Linked DNA regions of Homo sapiens: region 2 is linked to region 1. The links are contacts of gene promoters, found by promoter capture Hi-C in blood cells and fetal thymus (Javierre and others, 2016). All regions are on one chromosome and are shown on one strand. Each heading gives the region's core, a stretch centred on a gene start or on the middle of the fragment in contact. The rest is flanking DNA. Distances are from core to core; before and after follow the strand shown.

Region 1 (5,645 bases), core at 117-2,616:
CCTTGATACGTGGTATGGTTACGGCTAGGAAAAATAGTGTTGGAGTACTGATTTATAATTTCATAAAAACAAATTAATCATTTGTAATAATTAAAGCATATGAGCTTTTCAAAAATTATTTTTCCCATAGTATACAACAGCCCAACTTTTTTTCCTTGTTATTGGCCAATAAAACCTTTGTTAAAAATTACACTTCAATAAACCATTATTTAAATGTTAAAAATGCAAAATTTTTAAAGTTTTCAAGCCCTAATTAAAAAAATTAAAAGCATAAAGTTTTTGATATTTTAACAACTTTATATACTCTAGAAATAAAGCTGCCAAAGATCAGTTCATTGTTAATTAGAGATTCTTCCATTATTATGAAGAAAATACCCACGATCTTCATATTTATCAAAGTAACATTTTAGTTAGGTGTCAATATCTCATTTTTAATAGAATGAAATTCTGAATTTCTTAATCCCACCATCCCCCCCCGAGTTGAGATGCATTTGCCATTTTCAAGGTTTTAGAAACACTTGTTGAAAAGACCATTGAAGAGTTTACAGTAGCAGTGTGAAATTTTAGGTATCCCAAGGAAGTACAGAATGAAAAATGTTTGAGAAGCAAGGATAGTGTTACGACTTTCAAAATTAATTCATATGAAACTCCTAATGTGAACCTGATTTTTTGCGCTGGGTAAAGAAGACTCATTAGAAGATCGAGTTCCAAGGGAACTGCAAATGCCAACCGCTTTAAAATGTACCTTTCCCATATGACACCATTTACCCTTGGAAGAAAACAAGTTACTCAGATTAGTCTAATTCCAATAAACACTGAGGCCATGAAGGAAAAAATATCCAAAAGGGTTGATTATTCCACCCCAGATTTGCAGCCATTTCAGGGACACCCCTTAAGTGCTCTTCCTCTGCAGATGTAGGGTAGACCCCCCATGTCTGACAACTCTTTAGAAATAAAATTGCGAAGAAGTTATCACTTTCCAAAGGGCGGGGGAAGGACAAGTGAGAGACGTTAAGAGAACCGACGCGCTTTGTCCTCTGAAATACCTCATATTTACTTTTGACAAAAGAAGTAAATAGAAGCAAAACTGAGATTCAGAAGAAACTCTTTCTACTGCTTGCACAGGTTAAGTTTCTCAAAGACCCCGGAGAAAAGAAGCGGGCTGGAGGCTCACCTTCCATGTCGCTGCCGGGCCGGGCTGGAGCTGCCGCTGTGGCTACTCGGCCTCTCCACGTGCTCCTGCCGTCGCCTGGACTCAGCGCGCAGCTGGCGGGAGATTCCCGGCGCGGGGAGTCCCCGGGATCCGGCAGCCGCGTCGGCGCAGACTGAAAAGGGCAGGAGCCGGCGACCTGCCGGTGCGCGGGGTTACAGCGGCGCTGGCTGGCGGCGGCTTTAAAGGACGCTGGCCGCGGAGTGCCGCGGGTTCCGCGCCTCCAGCCCCCTTTCGAATGTCAAACCCAAGGAACCCCGACAGGATGGAAATGTCGCATCACTAAATTGTCTCAAAATGTCTATTTTAGAAGGATAATGGATGAGAAAAGTGACATCACACGGAGGGTCGGGGGTCAGCCTTGCTTTCTTGGCAAGCTGAAGTTCAAAGACGTTTATCTTAAATTGAGGAAGATCTGGAACTTTTTGTCTAGATTCAGTGATAACAGCCGTGGAAAGTATCAATGAGAACCCCCTTCTTTCAAAGTATTTTTTTTTCCTTCCTCACTTTTTCATTTCACATGGTAAAAGTTTTTGGTCCAAGTTTTCAGACAGTTGGAAAGGATTTTGGCACTTCTATCAATTCAACTTTTTAATTTTTGGAAGCATTTATCTCACTTTTGTTTTCCCTCTGGGAACTGCTTGATTTATTTGCCACCACTCACGCAATACTACCCACTCTATATAAATAGAGGGAGTGTTTTATAGAGTGTGTTTATTTTCTCCCAGCCTGCCTTCTTCTAAATACACACCTTACAAAAATACATATATGATGTACCAGAAAATTAAGCAAAGAAAGTAGAGCTAAGGGTGGAAGGTGGGGGCAGTAAGATTGTAAAATTAACTTAAAGATGTTAGTATACAGATATGTATCAGTCAACATCTTCTCCCAACACCCTCCCTACTGTCCAGAGGTAAAGCACACATTTGACTGCAGAGAGAGGAAAGGGGAAGTGACCACAAAACTGTTTTTCAAAGCAGAACTTTTCTTCACATTGAGGTCTAAGGGACATTGTTCAGGTGAGCCCTTCTAAAGATATCCAGCGTGTGGGACAATATACGAATGAGTCTCAAAAGGCCACTGTCACCGCTATTAGAAAATTATATTAGTGCATACAAATATATTTGAGACTTAAGGCTGAGGGTTTGTGCATCAGCTGTCCATATCAGAAGAAACCCACACTTACAAGTTAAAGTATACATGCTGTAATTTTATGAATTGTAGCTTTAAACAATAGTATGTCGTTGGTATAGGCAGTCTATGTGATGTGTGTATATATATTCAAGTGGGTGAAAAACTACACTGGCTTTAAGCACCACAGTAGCATCTCTATAACTGTATGAGTTGGGAGTTCTGCAGGATGTCAATTTTGGAGAAATACTCTAAACACTAGGTCTAATTTTAGTACTGAAAGGGGAAATTTGTTGTTTGTTAGTTTCTAAAAGCAAAAATAGCACATCAAAAGTAGCAGAAGAGGAACTGTAAAATTTCACAGGGATGGTATGAGGATGAAAAGTTATTTGGTTATGAAAAAGTTGTAGGCCAGGCGCAGTGGCTCACGCCTGTAATCCCAGCACTTTGGGAGGCCAAGGCAGGTGGATCACGAGGTCAGGAGTTCGAGACCAGCCTGGCCAACATGGCAAAATACTGTCTCTACTAAAAATACAAAAATTAGCTGGGCGTGGTGGCGCATGCCTCTAATCCTAGCTACTCAGGAGGCTGAGGCAGGAGAATCGCTTGAACCCAGCAGGCAGAGGTTGCAGTGAGCCGAGATCTTGCCACTGAACTCCAGCCTGGGCAACAGAGTGAGACTTCGTCTCAAAAAAAAAAAAAAAAAGTTGTAAGGAAACTTTATGATTTTCCATTACAATGTTCTTCTGTATATTTGACAGTGGAACGTGTTAGTACTCTGTAAATAGTTCAATACTGAGTATTTCGGACTCCCGAGAGTGATACCTAAGGGGATTAAAAGTGAATTGGTAAAATAACTTATGTAGCTACTCCACCTTCAAGGAGATGCAGCATAAATCCCCACTCTTTAAGTGTGGGTGCACAAAGTGACTTCCTTCCGAAGAGTATAGTATGAAAGCAGGGGAATAAGTTGACAGTGGAGAAACCTGACAAACAGTACCTCAGCCAGCAGACCAAGGTTAACATCAAGTGATAAGGCATGTTGATAGTATGTCCCCTTGATATGATGTGATGAGAATGTCATTTTATCTCTGTAATCTTCCTCCTAAGAATCCATAATTCTAGTCTAATATGGAGAAAGACACCAAATTCCAGTAGAGAGGCATTCTACAAAATACCTCACCAATTAAAGCCAGGTCAAGACCTTCAAACACAAGAAAAGTCTGACACAGCCAAGGGGAATCTAAGGAGATACGATGACTATAGGTAATGTGGGATCCCGCATGAGATCCTGGAGCAAAAAAACAAACGAGGTAGGGAGGACATTGAGTAAAAAACTAAGGAAATCTGAATAAAGTTTGGACTTCAGTTAATAGTAATATATCAATATCCGTTCATTAATTGTAAGAAATGTACCATACCAATGTAAGATGTCAATAATAGGGAAAATCGGGAGGGAGTATGTAAAAACTCTCTGTACTGTTTTTGCAAATTTTCTGCAAATCTAAAACTCTTCTAAAATAAAAAGTTTATATAAAAAGAGTGGATGGGTACTTTTGACAACTATTACTCATTTGGTTAAGTCTCCTCTCATAGGATTTAGTTTATCACACAGGATTTACAACTATCAATTACTTACAGTAACCAAAAAGTCAATAAAACACACTGTGGATATATAATGTACTTTGACTAAAACTGGAATGAAGAACTTGTAGGGAATCAAAGATAATGCCTAAATCTGTCTTCATTATCATCACCTTAAGAAGAGAACAGTTGAGACCAGACCATGTATCCAGACATGGTAACTGAAAATGGGTGGATCTGACTCACTGAGTCACATTTCATGGCTTATGCTATATAGGTAAAATTAACAGTGACTAAAAATGAAATTACTGACAAAGTTTGCTCCTGGACCATATGAGAGAGTCCAAGTACTGACTCGGCTCAAAGGAAATAAAACCGAAAACTCTTGATCTCACCCAAAATAACCATTCTGCACCCTGTCTGAACCTTGGGCTCTCTCTACTAACCAGCCTACTCAAAACCACTACTGAGAGTGGTGTCCCGCTGCTAAGAAACAGACAACACACAGGGCCTTTCGGGCCACCAAACTAGTAGCCAAGAAGGAACCATCAAAGACGCGGGCATGATCCCCTTTGGAGCTCCCCGATCTTGACTAGTCATCCATCCCTACAGAAAAGGCCAATCGGGCTCCATCCCTACAGAAAAGGCCAATGGGCCTTACAATTGGGCCCATTTTTAAAGCAAGGTCACTTCATCAACCTAGATACGTTTGCACTGGGGGAGGTCTCTCACATCGCCTCATACTTGAAGTGAAAATGAAGATTCAACGTTCCTCTAGAGTGGGAAGGCCCGGAAGCGCCTTCTTGGCTCAGTAGTGGCTCTTCTGGGTCTTGGTCTTGCTGGTAAAGAATGCAATTAGGTAAAAATCGCGTGTCAGTTTGAAAGAGATTCGACACCCAGTTTCAGCGTTCATGAGAAGAGAGGCGTAGGAAATCCCCACGCGGGCCTTTCTGCTTCACGTGAGGAGGAAATTGTCACAAGTCTCTGCCTTCCTCAGGTCCCCTTCCTAGGGGATTCCTCATCGCATCCCCTAGCCGCCCTACCCCACCACGGTCCTTGGGACCTCGCGGTGTTCTCTCCTTGATCCCTTCGGCCCCTAGACTGGGGAATCCCCGGAACGCGACACCGTGGCTTCTTTTCCTTTATTCTCTTCCTGCCTTCCGCTCCGCTCAGAGAGCAAGGGGCCAGGAGCGCGGGAAAATGGCGCCGGACGCGAGGCGCGAAAAGTTCGCATGCCTGCTGCCGCGTGGGCGCCAGAGGATCTGGCGATCGCCTGCAGCGCCGTCGCCCCGCCCCCGCGCGCGAGAATCGAAGCACGCACGCGTTCTCCTGCGCGTCCGCTCCCGCCGTTGCGACGGACGGGTAGGGGAGGCGACCCCGGCGTTCTGCTCCGCACTGTGGAGGAGGTGGGGAGGTGTTGGGCCAGGGCTGAGGTAGGAGGGAGTCTGTCCCTCGACGCCTCCTGCGACGCCAGCCCCTGAGCGATGATGCGAACGTGCGTCCTACTCTCCGCGGTGCTCTGGTGCCTCACAGGAGGTGGGGCTCCCTCCACCCGGTCCCCAGGCCTCTCCCTCTGCCCGAGCTTCCCGGTCCTGCCTCCTTCGCCTCGCCCTGCCCTGCCCGACTCTGAACCCTGCTCCTCTTCTAACTAAAAGTCAGTGTTTTATTTCCTCCGCAGTCCAATGCCCGCGTTTTACCTTATTCAATAAGAAGGGCTTCA
Region 2 (6,481 bases), core at 3,043-5,542, 400 kb before region 1:
CCTTGACCTCCTGGGCTCAAGTGATCCTCCCATCTCAGCCTCATAGTAGCTGGGACTATAGGCAAGCAACACCATGCCTGGTTAATTTCTTGTTTTTGTTTGTTTGTTTTTGGTAGGGACGGAGTCTCGCTCTGTCGCCCAGGCTGGAGTGCAGTGGCGTGATCTTGGCTCACTGCAAGCTCTGCCTCCTGGGTTCAAGCAATTCTCCTGCCTCAGCCTCCCGAATAGCTGAGAATACAGGCCCACACCACTACGCCTGGCTAATTTTTTTTTTTTTTTTTGAGACAGAGTTTCTCTTTTGTTGCACAGGCTGGAGTGCGATGGCCCAATCTCGGCTCACTGCAACCTCCGCCTCCTGCGTTCAAGCGATTCTCCTGCCTCAGCCTCCCGAGTAGCTGGGATTACAAGCATGGGCCACCATGCCCAGCTAATTTTTTAGTATTTTTAATAGAGACGGGGTTTCTCCATGTTGGTCGGGCTGGTCTCGAACTCCCGACCTCAGGTGATCCGCCCGCCTCAGCCTCCCAAAGTGCTGGGATTACAGGCGTGAGCCACCAAGCCCGGCGGCTAATTTCTTTTGTATTTTAGTAGAGATGGGGTTTTACCGTGTTGCCCAGGCTGGTCTCAAACTCCTGAACTCAGGCAATTTGCCTGCCTCGGCCTCCCAAATTGCTGGGATTACAGGCATGAGCCACCTTGCTCGGCCTGTCATTTCTTGTATTTTTTTGTAGAGACAGATGTCTCAACATGTTGCCCAGGCTGGTCTCCAATTTCTGGGCTCACGAATTCCTTCCATGTTGGCCTTCCAAATTGTTGGTTTTACAGATGTCAGCCACCACACTCAGCCCTTTTTTCTTTTTGTTAGCCACTTTTTTTTTTTTTTAGATGGATTCTCACTCTGTTGCCCAGGTTGGAATGCAGTGGTGCAATCTTAGCTCACTGCAACCTCTGCCTCCCAGGTTCTAGTGATTCTCATGCCTCAGCCTCCTGAGTAGCTGGAATTACAGGCATATGCCACCATGCCTGGCTAATTTTTGTGTGTGTGTATATATAAATATATATATATTTTTTTGTTGTTTGTTTGTTTGTTTTTGAAACAGAGTCTTGCTCTGTCACCCAGGCTGGAGCGCAGTGGCACGATCTTGGCTCACTGCAACTTCTGCGTTCTGGGTTCAAGCGATTCTCCTGTCTCAACCTCCTGAATATCTGTGATTACAGGCGATCACCACCACGCCTGACTAATTTTTGTATTTTTAGTAGAGATAGGATTTCACTGTGTTGGCCAGGCTGGTCTTGAACTGCTGACCTCAAGTGGTCCTCCCACTTCGGCCTCCCAAAGTGCTGGGATTACAGGCATGAGCCACAGTGCTTGGCCTCTAATTTTTTTTTTTTTTGAGGCAGAGTCTTGCTCTGTTGCCCAGGCTGGAGTGCAGTAGCGTGATCTCCCCTCACTGCAATCTCTGCCTCCCAGTAGCGTGATCTCCCCTCACTGCAATCTCTGCCTCCCGGGTTCACACCATTCTCCTGCTTCAGCCTCCTGAGTAGCTGCGACTACAGGCACCCGCCACCACGCCCAGCTAATTTTTTTGTATTTTTAGTAGAGACGGGGTTTCACCGTGTTAGCCAGGATGGTCTCGATCTCCTGACCTCCTGATCTGCCCGCCTCGGCTCCCAAAGTGCTGGGGTTACAGGAGTGAGCCACTGCGCCCGGCCTATTTTTGTATTTTTAGTAGAAACAGGGTTTCACTGCATTGGCCAGGCTGGTCTTACTCCTGACCTCAAATGATCCTCCCCTCTTGGCCTCCCAAAGTGCTGGGATTACAGGCATGAGCCACTGCTCCCAGCCACTTCTTTTTTCTTGATAGCATTAATTTTACTTCCATAGAAGATCAAAAAGTTGTCGTGGAAAACTTGGTCTTTTTATTTTTTAAATTTTTTTATTATTTACTTATTTATTTTGAGACGGAGTCTTGCTCTGTTGCCAGGCTGGAGTGCAGTGGCGCGATCTCGGCTCGCTGCAACCTCTGCCTCCAGGGTTCAACCTCTGCCTCAGCCTCACGAGTAGCTGGGACTGCAGGTGTGTGCCACCAAGCCCAGCTAATTTTTGTGTTTTTAGTAGAGACGGGGTTTCCCCATGTTGGCCAGGATCGTCTCCATCTCTTGACCTTGTGATCTGCCCACCTTGGCCTCCCAAAGTGCTGGGATTACAGGAGTGAGCCACTGTGCCTGGCCTGATCTTTTTATTTTAGAACCAATATTTATGGACTCAATCATTTAGAGACGGCGGGCGTGGTGGCTCACGCCTGTAATCCTAACACTTTGGGGGCCAAAGTGGATGGAATGCTTGAGCCCAGGCATCTGAGGTCAGACTCGGCAACATAGCCAGCCCTCCATCTCTACAAAAAAATAAAAATAAAAATTAGCTGGGCTGGTGGCCTGTGGCTGTAGTCTCAGCTACTCAGGAGGCTGAGATGGGAGGATCACCTGAGCCCATGAGGGGAAGGCTACAGTGAGTTATGATTGTGCCACTGCACTCCAGCCTGGGCGACAGAGCGAGACCCTTCACACACACACACAAAATTAGGTTAAAAAAAAAAAATGTTTTGGATCGCCCTGTGAGCAAAAGGAACAAGAACATTTACAGAGAGTGATTTTTGAGAATTGAGACTACCTTAATTCAGAATGTTTTCTGGTCCTGAATTTACCAGCTGAACTTCTCCGTTTTGGACAAGCCCCTTCATTTCTCCATGCCTTAGTTTTCTCACTTATACAACCTATTTCAGAGGACTGTTGTGAAGATGGAATGACTTAAGGTAGGCGAAAGTTTTTTAAAAAGTAATAAATGAGGGGCCAGTGTAAGATAGTGTTATTTTCTTGTTAATTAATACTATGCTTTTCTTGTTCATATTATAATCTTTTGTATGAGGATGAAAGGCTAAATTATCCAATAACGGCCATGGGAGGATCTCAAGATGGGATGAGCTTTTAGGTTCTGAGATTTGAAGCAAAGATTGGTAAGGAGACAACACCATAGGATGGAAGAGCTTGTGTTTTAGTCTCAGAAAGACATGAATTTGAATGTTGACTGTGGCACTTGTTGGACCAAATTATTCAACTTCCCTGAGGCTGGGATTCCTTTTCTATAAAACAGGGATGAAAATCTCGTGTTTTGCAGGATAATTGTGAAAATTAGAGATAATGTATGTAAAATTCTTGGCAGGTAGCACACACCCTATATGTGGGAAGCACTGTTAAAACACTCAGGGACTTGGGTTGAAATGTCCCGACATTTGTCTTTTGCTCTGTAAAAAATAATCTCAACCGGGCGCGGTGGCTCAAGCCTGTAATCCCGCCACTTTGGGAGGACCAGACGGGCAGATTGCTTCATTCTAGGAGTTCAAGACCAAGGATCGCGGATTGCTTGAGTCTAGGAGTTCGAGACTAGCCTGGGCAACATGGCGAAACCCCATCACTACGAATAATAGAAACAAATTAGCACGGCGTGGTGGCGCGACTCTATAGTTCCAAGTACTCGGCAGGATGAGGTGGGAGGATTGCTTGAGCCCAGGAGGTGGAGGCTGCAGTGAGCCGAGATCGTGCCACTGCACTCCAGTCTGGGCAAAAGAGAGAGAACTTGTCTCAAACAAACAAAAAAATGGCCCGGCGCGGCGGTTCACGCCTGTAATCCTAGCACTTTGGGAGGCCGAGGCGGGAGGATCACTTGAGGTCAGGAGGTCGAGACCAGCCTGGCCAACATGGTGAAACCCTGTCTCTACTAAAAACAAAAAAGTTAGCCGGGCGTGGTGGCGGGCGCCTGTAATCCCAGCTACTCGGGAGGCTGAGGCAGGAGAATCGCTTGAACCCAGGAGGTGGAGGTTGCAGTGAGCCGAGATCGCGCCACTAACACTCCAGGATGGGCTACAGAGCGAGACTCCGTCTCAAAGGAAAACAAAAAACAAACAAAAAAAAGTCATCCTGGTAGTTAAAAGATTTGTTAAAAAGGATGTTGAAATTATTTTGTCACGGAGCCTGGGAGTGTTTGTTTAATCAGTTACCGATAAAGTTTTGGTTAAAAAAAAAAAACTCGGTTTGTTCCGTTTCAATAAAGCTTTGCTCAAACGGGGAGCTCCGGGAGCTCATCGCGAGACTCAGGTGAAACGCGTTTCTAGTTTGGGACCTGATCTCGCGTTGTTTGATAAGCAGGGGAATGAGGTGAAAGCGAAGCACGAAACATCGCGAGAGGCTACTGGACTCTCGCGACGATTTCTGGGATTGCCCCTCCCCCCTTCCCCAAGTGCCGTTTCGGTTTAATCTAGTGTGTGACTGGGTCTGTGTGAGGGAGAGAGTGTGTGTGGTGTGGAGGTGAAACGGAGGCAAGAAAGGGGGCTACCTCAGGAGCGAGGGACAAAGGGGGCGTGAGGCACCTAGGCCGCGGCACCCCGGCGACAGGAAGCCGTCCTGAACCGGGCTACCGGGTAGGGGAAGGGCCCGCGTAGTCCTCGCAGGGCCCCAGAGCTGGAGTCGGCTCCACAGCCCCGGGCCGTCGGCTTCTCACTTCCTGGACCTCCCCGGCGCCCGGGCCTGAGGACTGGCTCGGCGGAGGGAGAAGAGGAAACAGACTTGAGCAGCTCCCCGTTGTCTCGCAACTCCACTGCCGAGGAACTCTCATTTCTTCCCTCGCTCCTTCACCCCCCACCTCATGTAGAAGGGTGCTGAGGCGTCGGGAGGGAGGAGGAGCCTGGGCTACCGTCCCTGCCCTCCCCACCCCCTTCCCGGGGCGCTTTGGTGGGCGTGGAGTTGGGGTTGGGGGGGTGGGTGGGGGTTGCTTTTTGGAGTGCTGGGGAACTTTTTTCCCTTCTTCAGGTCAGGGGAAAGGGAATGCCCAATTCAGAGAGACATGGGGGCAAGAAGGACGGGAGTGGAGGAGCTTCTGGAACTTTGCAGCCGTCATCGGGAGGCGGCAGCTCTAACAGCAGAGAGCGTCACCGCTTGGTATCGAAGCACAAGCGGCATAAGTCCAAACACTCCAAAGACATGGGGTTGGTGACCCCCGAAGCAGCATCCCTGGGCACAGTTATCAAACCTTTGGTGGAGTATGATGATATCAGCTCTGATTCCGACACCTTCTCCGATGACATGGCCTTCAAACTAGACCGAAGGGAGAACGACGAACGTCGTGGATCAGATCGGAGCGACCGCCTGCACAAACATCGTCACCACCAGCACAGGCGTTCCCGGGACTTACTAAAAGCTAAACAGACCGAAAAAGAAAAAAGCCAAGAAGTCTCCAGCAAGTCGGGATCGATGAAGGACCGGATATCGGGAAGTTCAAAGCGTTCGAATGAGGAGACTGATGACTATGGGAAGGCGCAGGTAGCCAAAAGCAGCAGCAAGGAATCCAGGTCATCCAAGCTCCACAAGGAGAAGACCAGGAAAGAACGGGAGCTGAAGTCTGGGCACAAAGACCGGAGTAAAAGTCATCGAAAAAGGGAAACACCCAAAAGTTACAAAACAGTGGACAGCCCAAAACGGAGATCCAGGAGCCCCCACAGGAAGTGGTCTGACAGCTCCAAACAAGATGATAGCCCCTCGGGAGCTTCTTATGGCCAAGATTATGACCTTAGTCCCTCACGATCTCATACCTCGAGCAATTATGACTCCTACAAGAAAAGTCCTGGAAGTACCTCGAGAAGGCAGTCGGTCAGTCCCCCTTACAAGGAGCCTTCGGCCTACCAGTCCAGCACCCGGTCACCGAGCCCCTACAGTAGGCGACAGAGATCTGTCAGTCCCTATAGCAGGAGACGGTCGTCCAGCTACGAAAGAAGTGGCTCTTACAGCGGGCGATCGCCCAGTCCCTATGGTCGAAGGCGGTCCAGCAGCCCTTTCCTGAGCAAGCGGTCTCTGAGTCGGAGTCCACTCCCCAGGTGAGCTATTTGTCTAACAGTCCTTCCTCATTTAGGGTGGGTTGCGAGGAATTGGCATTCAGCGTGTTAACATTGTCTGGAAGCCCGCAGTGTTCATCATTGACTAGAACACTTTGCTGTTGGCTAGTCATTCCAGTGTGTGAATCTGTCTCCCCTTAACCCAGAATTCGAGAAGTGAAGAGTACATAGGCCTCAAACCGCCAAAGGTAGGTACTTCCAGTGGTGGGGTCTTCAGTTGTAAGCTTCTGAGTGAGAAACGTCAAAGGCTTCTGCTTAGTGAGTGGATGGAGTTGATACTAGTTCCCAGAGCATGTCTAGCTATTTCTGTTGCTTAGTTTTATATTTTTAAAAATCACATTGGTATTTGTGCTTTAGACTCTATGGGACCTGGTTGAAGACTTAAGAAATTGGTATGGAAGTTACTTGCCTAGTTTATCCTATTTGTGTTGTCCACTGAATCCCCAAACCTGTACATTTATTCATTTCCTACTTGGCACTGTTTTAATTATTTACAAAAGATTCCTGTCTTTTAACTGATGTTTTAGTGGAAATTCAGC

Evidence for each region. The method cuts DNA at HindIII sites, captures the fragments that hold promoters and counts their contacts. A CHiCAGO score of 5 or more calls a contact.
Region 2: a contact is called between the fragment with the promoter of CDK12 here and the fragment with the promoter of IKZF3 in region 1, in 1 of 17 cell types (total CD8 T cells). The highest score is 5.5, in total CD8 T cells.

What each region holds. Positions count from the first base shown.
Region 1 is chr17:39,862,946-39,868,590 of GRCh38, forward strand. IKZF3 (IKAROS family zinc finger 3) reads right to left here and starts at 1,367. Exons shown (of 8, transcript NM_012481.5): 1 at 1,175-1,367. The coding sequence starts at 1,181. ZPBP2 (zona pellucida binding protein 2) reads left to right here and starts at 5,257. Exons shown (of 8, transcript NM_199321.3): 1 at 5,257-5,461; 2 at 5,604-5,645. The coding sequence starts at 5,410. RefSeq lists enhancers at 989-1,108, 1,119-1,208, 1,936-2,005, 2,066-2,125, 4,077-4,296 and 1 more and a silencer at 4,311-4,526. The HindIII fragment of the contact is 8,560 bases long and covers 1-5,645 here.
Region 2 is chr17:39,457,194-39,463,674 of GRCh38, forward strand. It overlaps CDK12 (cyclin dependent kinase 12), which reads left to right and starts at 4,293. Exons shown (of 14, transcript NM_016507.4): 1 at 4,293-5,924. The coding sequence starts at 4,879. RefSeq lists enhancers at 4,070-4,994, 4,355-4,404, 4,495-4,554, 4,720-5,919, 4,945-5,074. The HindIII fragment of the contact is 2,058 bases long and covers 4,107-6,164 here.